Regions from separate parts of the Homo sapiens genome. Here all the other regions are linked to region 3. Evidence: promoter capture Hi-C in 16 types of primary human blood cells and fetal thymus (Javierre and others, 2016). All regions are on one chromosome and are shown on one strand. Each heading gives the region's core, a stretch centred on a gene start or on the middle of the fragment in contact. The rest is flanking DNA. Distances are from core to core; before and after follow the strand shown. Region 1 holds the start of STEAP2-AS1 (STEAP2 antisense RNA 1). Region 2 has its middle 29 kb from the start of PTTG1IP2. Region 3 holds the start of TEX47 (testis expressed 47).

The links. The method cuts DNA at HindIII sites, captures the fragments that hold promoters and counts their contacts. A CHiCAGO score of 5 or more calls a contact.
Region 1: the fragment with the promoter of STEAP2-AS1 here is called in contact with the fragment with the promoter of TEX47 in region 3 in 14 of 17 cell types (naive CD4 T cells, naive CD8 T cells, activated CD4 T cells and 11 more); the score reaches 19.8 in naive CD4 T cells.
Region 2: a contact is called between a fragment that was not itself captured here and the fragment with the promoter of TEX47 in region 3, in 1 of 17 cell types (total B cells). The highest score is 5.1, in total B cells.

The regions. Positions count from the first base shown.
Region 1 is chr7:90,210,110-90,213,760 of GRCh38, forward strand. STEAP2-AS1 (STEAP2 antisense RNA 1) reads right to left here and starts at 1,526. Exons shown (of 3, transcript NR_110029.2): 1 at 1,191-1,526. It overlaps STEAP2 (STEAP2 metalloreductase), which reads left to right and starts at 1,631. Exons shown (of 6, transcript NM_001244944.2): 1 at 1,631-1,936. RefSeq lists a silencer at 1,734-1,793. The HindIII fragment of the contact is 5,296 bases long and covers 1-2,915 here.
Region 2 is chr7:90,438,902-90,442,451 of GRCh38, forward strand. No RefSeq gene overlaps it. Among named protein-coding and RNA genes, the nearest start is that of PTTG1IP2, 29 kb to the right of the region's middle. The HindIII fragment of the contact is 3,894 bases long and covers 1-3,550 here.
Region 3 is chr7:88,794,191-88,797,581 of GRCh38, forward strand. It overlaps TEX47 (testis expressed 47), which reads right to left and starts at 1,547. Exons shown (of 2, transcript NM_152706.4): 1 at 1,450-1,547; 2 at 1-856. The coding sequence starts at 752. All of the region lies in intron 1 of ZNF804B (zinc finger protein 804B), which reads left to right. The HindIII fragment of the contact is 9,842 bases long and covers 1-3,391 here.

The DNA.
Region 1 (3,651 bases), core at 276-2,775, 1.4 Mb after region 3:
ATTGTTGACTCACTGATTCTCATTTAGGAAAAGGGATTTCACATTACTTTATCTATTTTCTCAATAGTCAAAGCCCATGTTAAGAGAGCTTTTAAACATATTTAAAATATATGGCTTACCTACATGTTTTACATGATAATTTATGGTTATAGAAGTTAGAAAGTGCAATTTCTTTTAATATCCCCGTGGGGAAGTTATATAATTCTATAGTTTTTTAAAATATATGGAAAAGCAATATACTTTCCGTTAACTGCTAAGATTCATGAATTTTCTCCACAAGTTCTCCAGAGGAACTACTAGAAAAAACTCCACGAATCTCATTATTTGACAGTTTTGTTGAAGTGAAATTATTAAAATTGATATTAGATTTAATGACTTGTTTCCAGTAACCAAAATGGAAAGTATTCTACCAGCTGTCGATGGTTCCACACCCTGACACATCGTTAAAACCTTAGCTTCTGCCTAAACTTTAAACCTTAATAATATTTGGCGGTAGGGGAGGGGTTACATTTCAAGTCAAACAAAGGATGTATTTCCAAAGCAGCATTTACAAAGGTTAATCTGTGTATGGACTACAAAGGGGAAAGTGCAGTGCCCCAGTGATCGATCTAAGACCCCCCTCTCGTTGTTGTTGTTGTTGGGTTTTTTTGGTCTGGTTAATAAACCACCTAGAGGGATAATTTTTAAACTTAATTTGTTGAAATGGTACTTTACTAATGTATGAAAAAAATTTCCCCAAATTTGAGAATTTTTGGTAAGTTGATTTTATATTTGGGAATAAAGATCTCTTGCTTCTTCTACTGACACCTTCTACACAAAAGATAAAAGGTACTTTTACTTGGTAATCCGCAGGGAGAAAATTTACAGAAACCCAGAGCCAAAGGTGCTCTCAGGGGATCCCCTGAAACATTCAAAGCCATTGCGGCCCCAGAAGGTAAATGGCTTTCGCAGGAACACAGGTCTCCTGACTCACGGCCTAACCTTCCTTTCCCCCACACCAAAGCTCGCGCGGCACCAGCTAGAGTGAAGGTCAAAGTCAACAGAATAATCTCTGCAGTCCAGGGTCTGTGAGGGTCCTCCTATCCGAGGGAGTTTTCATGAAAGGGCATTTCCGAACATTTTATTCCAAGGACACAGTCTAGTCAAAAGACGTTTGGGATAGGGTAAACATGAGGCAAAAGAACACTTACAAAAGAAAAAAGCGCAGTTTCTTGGAGGCTTGTCAGAAGCTAAGACTGGGGAGATGAGAACCAGGGCCCTTGGCGAGAGTTGGGGTGGGAATCGCGTAAGAAAAGCAATTTCTAGAGCGGAAAGGTGACCCCACATTACAAAAAGAAATGGAGTAGAAAAATAGGCTTGACTATTCTAAAGCTGCTTCAGAAAGAATCTCCGGAAGACCACGGAGGAACCCCGCAGGGGAGCCAGGCGGATACTCAGCCGCTCGCGGTAGAAGGGCGCGCAAAGCTGCGGAGCCGCGTGTGTGGAGCTCCCCAGTGCACTCACTGCTGGCTCCCCCTCGGTGCTCTGGGCCCTTCCCAGCTCCCTCCACACAGCCCGGCTCCCTTCACACACCCCCGCCCCCTCCGAGCTCCCCGACTCCTCCCCGCGCTCCACGGCTCTTCCCGACTCCAGTCAGCGTTCCTCGGGCCCTCGGCGCCACGAGCTGTCCGGGCACGCAGCCCCTAGCGGCGCGTCGCTGCCAAGCCGGCCTCCGCGCGCCTCCCTCCTTCCTTCTCCCCTGGCTGTTCGCGATCCAGCTTGGGTAGGCGGGGAAGCAGCTGGAGTGCGACCGCCGCGGCAGCCACCCTGCAACCGCCAGTCGGAGGTGCAGTCCGTAGGCCCTGGCCCCCGGGTGGGCCCTTGGGGAGTCGGCGCCGCTCCCGGGGAGCTGCAAGGCTCGCCCCTGCCCGGCGTGGAGGGCGCGGGGGGCGCGGAGGTGAGCGGGTCGGGGAGGAGCGCGAAAGAAGGTAGCGGCGGCGGAGTTGAGGGTCAAGATGCAGTCTGCGCCACGCGCTGCATCCATCCTCCCCGATTCTGCGCCCTCACCGGGCGTCCGCCCTGAGCTGCGGGGTCCCTCATCTCCTGGCACCTTAAGGTGGAAAGTGAGAAGGGTGGAGAAGGGTGTCTGTTCCACTGATTCCCCCTCCTCCTCCTCTTGGTTCCTAGAGCTAAGGGCAAGTCCTGAGGTTGGGCCCAGGAGAAAGAAGGCAAGGAGACATTGTCCCAGGTAGGATGTGTCCCAGCAGGAAAGGACAGGCAGGTTACTTTCGCCCCCTTGATAGTCTCCCTGCTACTTTGGGTTGATGCAGGGCATTTCATGGAAGATCATGCAGTGCTGCTTTGCGAACAGGTATTTCTAGCAGTCATTTGGTTTATTTCCCAGTAATGTAATCGTGGTGTTTAGGCCATTTCTGTTAGAAAGTAATTGGCCTCTTCTTTGACTGTCCTAAATTATCTTTGAACCCTGTGTTCAGCCTCAGCCAAAACTTGTTGAAAATTATGCCCTAAAAATCTTGCTCTTAAAATAGAGCAGAGAGATAAAGAGCATTTTTGTTGGAAGATTTCCATTTATTATCTCTCCCACCCCGTGGAGAAGGATTGGTGTCAGTTTTTACTCCTCGGGCAGTTAGTTTTTTAGATGGAAAGACAGTCCAGGCCATAGTTAATTATCGCTCATCAGTATAGGAGAAAAAGAATTCAGACTCCTGCCCCACCCCCACCCCCACCCCCAACCTCCTGACTTAGATTCTGGTCCTTTTAACAGCCCCGCTGCTTGGAACCCTTTTTGTTTTCTAAACCACCTCCCCATCCTTCCTTTTCTCCACTTTATTATTTCTTCATTTTATTGATCTGTTTATTTTTTCTTTCTTTAACCCTATAATTTTTTTACTCCGATTCTCTCTTGGTTGCTTCAAAGCTTAGAGGCTATTTAATGGAAAAGCAAAACAAAACAAAACAAAACACCCGTCCTAAATAATTTGCAGGATGTTTAGAAACATAAAGAGTAACTATGTGTGCTGCCATTGGGATGGCTGCACTCTCTGCCTCTTAGCTAGTCACTCTGTCAGGGTATGGGGAAATGAGACAATATTGAGAATGACAACTTGAGCAAATTGTGCAGTAAGGAAATGAAAAGCTTTATCCAAGTCACTTTTTATTGTACTGGTGCTATGGAAAATGTGGTGAATGAACATAGTTGTATTTTAGTACTGAAAAAACAGGACAGGTGAAGACAAATTTTTAAAGAAAGGATTGTAAATGAGTTAGAAAAGTGAGAAAGAAGATACACCAAAAATGTGAAAGAGTAAGACTGCAGGCGTGATAAAGGACATAGGACATCAGGAGATGTATTTATCCCTGCTGGGCCAGAAACCAGGACATTGAGGTAACTGAGACATTAACATAACAATAACATTGATAAATCACCTACCCCTTAAGGGCCCACATGTGTTTTCAGCAAAAAGAGAAATCTGATCTAGAGAATTATTACATGTCTTTTTGTCCTGAATTTTTTTGATGTATTCCATAACAAAGAATTTTTATTGCATCCTTAGTTACACTGCCAGCCAATGTGGAGGCAGTGATCACGGACAAGACAAACATGGTTCTTCCCTCGTGCAGTTTATTGTCCAATGGGGGAAATAGTAAACA
Region 2 (3,550 bases), core at 621-3,120, 1.6 Mb after region 3:
TGCAAAGGCACAGAAAATATCTGAAAGGACACACACACACACGCTTGTGCACATACAATTATTAACAGTGGATACTTTCAGGGAATTCATATAGGATATTGGCAAGATAAGCAGAATTTTACTTTTACCTCTATACAGATACAGTTCTCTACTACTTGAATGTATTATCATGAACACACATTTCTTCTGTTATAAAAATTATTTTTAAAATAATATTTAATATCATGGGAAGATATTTAATATCTATAGTAAACTGAAAGAGCAAGTTATAAAATGGTAAGTAAAATATGATCTTCCTTTGGAAAATAATATTTTTTTTTGAGATGGAGTTTCACTCTTGTCACCCAGGCTGGAGTGCAGTGGCATGATCTTGGCTCACTGCAACCTCTGCCTCCCGGGTTCAAGCGATTCTCCTGCCTCAGCCTCCCGAGTAGCTGGAATTATGGATGCCCGCCACCACATCTGACTAATTTTTTGTATTTTTAGTAGAGATGGGGTTTTGCCATGTTAAAGCAGGCTGGTCTTGAACTCCTAACCTCAGATGATCTGCCCACCTTTGCCTCCCAAAGTGCTAGGATTACAGGCGTGAGCCACCACGCTTGGCATAGAAAATAATATTTATGCAAAGAAGAAAGATTGGATGGGTATACACCAAGATGTGAACAATGATCTCAGAGTGTGTATTAGTCTGTTCTCATGCTGCTAATAGAGATATACTCAAGACTGGGTAATTTATAAAGGAAAGAGGTTTAATGGACTCACAGCTCTACATGGCTGGGGAGGCCTCACAATCATGGCAGAAGATGAAGGAAGAGCAGAGGGACATCTTACGTGACAGCAGGCAAGAGAGCTTGTGCAGGGGAACTCCCATTTATAAAACCGTCAGATCTCGTGAGACTTATTCACTACCATGAGAACAGTATGGGGGAACCACCCCCATGATTAAATTATCTCCACCTGGGCCCACCCTTGACACATGGGGATTATTACAATTCAAGGTGAGATATGGGTGAGGACACAGCCAAACCATATCAAAGTGGATGAATTTGGATGATTTTTATTGTTTTCTTTTGCACGAATCTTGATTTTCTAAACACTTTTTATCCTTTAAGAGTTTGATTCATCAGGCATTTCTTAAAAAATGATATACTTCATTAGTACTCTTAAAAAGATAGATCTCTGATTCATGGAGCCAGAAGATAACTGGATACAAAACTATCTGATGTGAAAGTTATTTCTTCCACCAAATTTCAGTCATGTAAGAGCTCTTAATTTTTGGATTTATCTTCTATACATGGCTGACTTCATCTATATTTTATGTGGAATAAGTAGCAAATACTTCTGAGCTTCTTCAAAATGAAGTGGAAAGTAAAATATAAAATGAGTGAAGAAATCAGAACAAAGAAAATATGACAGAAGGAGAGAGAAAATGAAATCACAAGATGAACTCTACCCCGTAAGGGCCAGCACTTTTTTTGAGGGTGATCTAGTCATGCATCACTTAATGGCAGGGATATGTTCTGAGAAATGCATCCTTAAGCAATTTTGTCATTGTGCGAACATCATGGAGTGTACCTACGCAAACCTAGCTGGTATAGCCTACTACACACCTAGGCTAGATGGTATAGCCTATTGCTCCTAGACTAGAAACCTGTACAGCATGTTACAATACTGAATGCCACAGGCAATTGTAATATGACAGTAAGTATTTGTGTATCTAAATATATCTAAACATAGAAAAGGTACAGAAAAAATATAAAAGATAAAAAATGGTACACCTTTATAGGACACTTATGAATGGAGCCTGCAGGACTGGAAGTTGCTCTGGGTGAGTCAGTGAGTGAGTGGTGATTGTGAGGGCCTCACACATTATCATACACTACCGTAGACTTTATAAATGCTGTACACTTAAGCTACACTAAATTCATAAGAATAAATTTTATTTCTTCAATAATAAATTAATCTTAGCTTACTGTAACTTTTTTACTTTTAACACTTTAAATTTTTCTTTTTGACTCTTTTGTAATAACACCTAGCACATTGTACACAATATTTTCTGTCCTTTTCTGTAAGCGTTTTTCTTTTTTAATAATTTTTTTAACTTTGTAAAAGTTTTTGTAAAAAATAGGACACAAACACATACATTAGCCCAGGCATACACAGGGTCGAAATCATCAGCATCACTGCCTCCAACTTCTACATCTTGTCCCGCTGGAAGTTCTTCAGGGGCAATAACAGGCATGGAGTGATCATGTCCTATGATAACAATGACTTCTTCTGGAATACCCCCTCAAGACCCTGCCTAAGGCCGGTTTATAGTTAACTTTTTAATATACATAATTAGAAGGACTACACTCTAAAATAGCAATAAAAATCAGAGTACAGTAAATACATAAATCAGTAACATGGTTGTTTATTATCGTTATCAAGTATTACATTGTATTTAGTCTGTTTTCACACTGGTACAAAGAACTACCTGAGGCTGGGCGCAGTGGCTCACGCCTGTAATCCCAGCACTTTGGGAGGCCAAGGCAGGCAGATCACGAGGTCAAGAGATAGAGACCATCCTGGCCAACATGGTGAAACCCTGTCTCTATTAAAAATACAAAATTAGCCGGGCGTGGTGGTGTGTGCCTGTAGTCCCAGCTACTCAGGAGGCTGAGGCAAGAGAATTGCTTGAACCCGGGAGGTGGTGGTTGCCGTGAGCTGAGATCGTGCCACTGCACTCCAGCCTGGCGACAAAGCGAGACTCCGTCTAAGAAAAAAAAAAAAAAAAAAAAGAACTACCTGAGACTGGGTAATTTATGAAGAAAAGAGGTTTAATTGACTCACAGCTCTGCAGAAAGCAGGCTGGGAGGCCTCAGGAAACTTACAGTCTGGTGGAAGGAGAAGGGAAAGCAAGCACATCTTAGCATGGGAAAGCAGGAGAGAGAACAAGAGAGCAAAGGGGGAAGTGCTACACACTTTCAAACCATCAGATTTTGTGAGAACTCACTCACCATCATGAGAACAGCAAGGGGGAAATCTGCCTCTGTGATTCAATCACATCCCACCAGGCCTCTCCCTGAGATGTGGGATTACAATTTGACATGAGATTTGAGTAGGGACACAGAGCCAAACTATATCATACATAGTATACAGAATTGTATGTGTGTTAGTTTTATATGACTGGCAGCCAATAGTTTTGGGTACACCAGCATTACCACAAACATAAGTAATATGTTGTGCTACAATATTACAAAGTCCAGGACATCACCAGGCTATAGGAATTTTTCAGTGTCATTATAATCTTATGGGCCCACTGTTGTACACGTGGTCTGTTATTGACTGAAACGTTATGTATTGCATTACTGTACTAACTCTTCTAAACAACCCCCTAACTCTTACCCACCCCAAAAAGAGACCAGAGCTGGGGAGGGTCAAACTGTCCCGAGATGGAGGCCAGACAGAAATTACTCAAGTGCACGAGCTACATGCAGACAATAACAACAATGACAGCAACAGCTCCTGAGGTTTCATATGGGTCAAGTTCTATGCTAAATCATGATTT
Region 3 (3,391 bases), core at 297-2,796:
GAAGGAGCAGGCCATACCACCTCAGAATCCAGAGTGATGTGTATGGGTCTATTATACATGTTTATAAATGTTGCCGGGTCCATGAATTCTTCGGATTTGCACAAGTACTTTATGATTTGTTCTGGGAGGAGTAGGTCAGGTGCAACTTGGTGTAAGTTATCGCCTGGTCCTTTAGTGCCTACTTTCATAGTCTGGCAAAGGTAGAGTGACAGTTTATGAGTTTGTGTGAGAAAATCTGTGATGACCTCCTTTAGGGACTGTGACTGTGTCACATCGTCGAGATACATAACTGGAACTTTTATCACTGAAACATGCCATTGCATAAAAAGCCTCATTGGAATGTTATGAGAAATGACTATAATTTTCATTTGTTGAATAAAAAATACTGTTTCATCTTTGACATGGCCAATATAATCTAAAAGAACTTTGTAGAGAGTGTCGCTGGAGGACTCGAGGATATGCAGAATGGAAGTGGGATAGATGAGCAGCAATCCTGTCACTGCTTCTCCTAGGTGATGTTTCAAAACTGACTGAAACATTTGTTCATAGTAGTCAGCAACATCTTTTCTTTCTACATTTGCTTGTATCTTGGCCACTAGAAACATCCTATCAAGAAGGAATTTCTTTAGGTGTAGTCGTTGTTTCTCTTCTTGAAAGTGCAGGTAATTGCTACGTGGGACTTGGAGAAAAAGAAGAGGTTCCAGTGGCAAAGGCCTTTTGCTGCCCTTCTGGTTATGGACCGAAAAGGACATGAGGAGTCTTATTTATTTTTCCAGATGATTCCAGCTTTTAGCTTATCATAATATTTATGCTGCCAGGGTACCTCTTTACTGATGAACTCGTGTTTTTATTTCTTCTGACAAAAAAAAAAAGAGTAAATCACGGTTTGTCAAATGTTACTAAATAGTAAAATCCCAATCTTTTGCCAGTTTTATCAGGAAACAATGTATTTGAAATGAAAGACAATGTTAAAACAATACTCAAACTATAGACTTTTTTAAAAGTTTACAACGAAAGAGTTAAATAATATCCTAGGAAAAAACTTTGTAAATGTCATGTAATGGTGATTACAGATTGTCCTTTATAAGCCAAATTTTTTAAAAATGGTATTTTATGGTAATTCTTCCAGTTTCTTTTACAAATCTAACTGATCTATAACTTTTAAAAAAAAATCCAAGGCTTTTTAAGTCCTAATTAGCTTATGTAACCTTTAGTCATGTCACTAATAGTTAATAATGTTCCTTGAATAATAACAGTAAACATTTCAAGGGAAAAGTTTTGGTTCTTTGTTTTTTCTCCTATCGACGAATCTCAGAAATGATTCATTTCTCCCCCCTTTATTTGTTTTCTTGTTGTTTTTGTTGTTGTAAGGGCTACATGAAAGTATTCTGCTACTTTAACTTACTCTGCTTACAAATCTCCTCAATTTTTTTTTCCAGGTCAACTTACCATTTTTCTTTTTTTTCCTGTGCTTCTGTCACGCACCTGTCCTCGAGGCCCTACTTGTCCTCCATCAGGCTCCCAACTGCCAGTCCTCTGGTGTTCTCAGCTGTCCTGTGTTCTGCCTTCCCTCGGGCATACGTGAGTCAGAATGTCAGCACCATTAAAGGACCAGAGCGCCAAGTTTCTTAATACGGGTATCTCGACAAACACTTCAAAGTCACTGCAGAGGAAGTGTGAATGGCTTATTCCTGAATGGTTTATTTTTAGTCAGGTGCATTTGTAAGTCAGACAGATGGTGAGAATCTGGACATCTTTTTCCTTTCTTTTTTTCCGTTTGATAAATAAAAAGTATGGTTGTAGAACTCCTCTGTTCTACTTAGACACTAACTAAAGACTTCAGGAACACATATCTGAATCTATCTAATGGTGAATATATGATGAGAAAGTTCTATAGTAAGATTTGGCTTACTTAACTTAATGTGATTTTAAGAGATGCACCTCTTAAAATTGTGTCTTAAGAGATGCATCTCTTAAAATTGCATCCACATGAGTTCTAAACAGTAATTTTAAAACAAGTTTAAAAAACGTTTATTCAATTTTTAACAATGAAACCTAAGAATAATTTTTTCCCTGAGTTCTGTATTATCCAAACTAATGATCTAATTTTAATGATAATACAATGATAAATTATCCAAGTAAATGAAGGCAGAGAGGTGACTTAATAATTAATTAATTGTGTAATACATAAAAATGGACTATTCTTCCTCATTGTGATTCACTTTATCACTCCCTGAAGCAATACAATCTTTCCGAAGATGTAAACCATGGTGCCAAACCATGTCATTGCCCAGTCTAGTTATTATCTCACTCTCATTCTTCTTACAGCTTTGTTGGAAGAAAGTGTCCATGTTGACCAGAGCCTTCATTATGGCCTTCTCTCCTCTCCTGGTTTCTATGATACTGCACTTTCTTGGATTTCTTTCTAAATCTCTGTATGAGGCCTTGCCCGGCAATACCTTCTCACATCCAACTCTGGAAAATACTTAGGCTCTGCGCTCATGATGTGGTTGGATCTCTCGCTCTACTTCTTTGCCCAGTTAGCTCAGCACCATCTATATGTCTCTTTTGTGAGGGCAGGTAAGTGGTCCTTAAAGCCACTCTTGCCACTAGATTGCACGTTTGAAATTGGAAATTGATCATGGGGCTTTCCTTCTGAGCTTACCTGTGGACTAAAAATATTTTTCAATCTGAGTCTCAAGGTAGACACAACTAGTTAATTGGGGTTGAGAAAGAAGAAAAAACTGAGCTCCCATTCTAGATTATTTTTGCACAGAAAATTCTCAAATTATTATCTCCAGTCACTTATTCACAACTCTTCTCTCCTTGGATGTAACTCTGTCTTTTCAAATTTAAAATGAAAACATTTAAACAATTATTTTCCTTATTAAACATGTTTCCCTTTACAAATACCCCACTTGTGTCTAAATTAACATGTTTTTTCCTCTCAGTTCCCAGGCCAAAATCCTTGGTATTATTTGTTCATGTTTCATCCAAGTTATATACTCCAACTCTATTCTTTTTACTAAGTCTTTTTACTCACTTTAATATGCCTTAAGGGTTCTTGATTTACACTACCTCTTTCATAGTCCTACTTCTTTATTTGGATTATAATAAGGGTCTCTACCCACAGTATTTCTAGATTTCTCCACCCCACAAATTCAGCTAAGAGTGTGAAACCATAAGCCCTTTGATACATCTACTTTATAAAGTTAAAAAGATTCTCATTTTACAAAGTCCTCCCTGCTTTCTTTCCCTCCATAGAATGCTGGGAGGCAAAGCCTCTGCCTTCACCACATCCAGAGTGACTTCTGGTATTTATTTCCAATTTCCAGTCATGGATTAAACCAGAGAGAACATGGGGACAGGCAATGGTGTGATTTGTTACCTA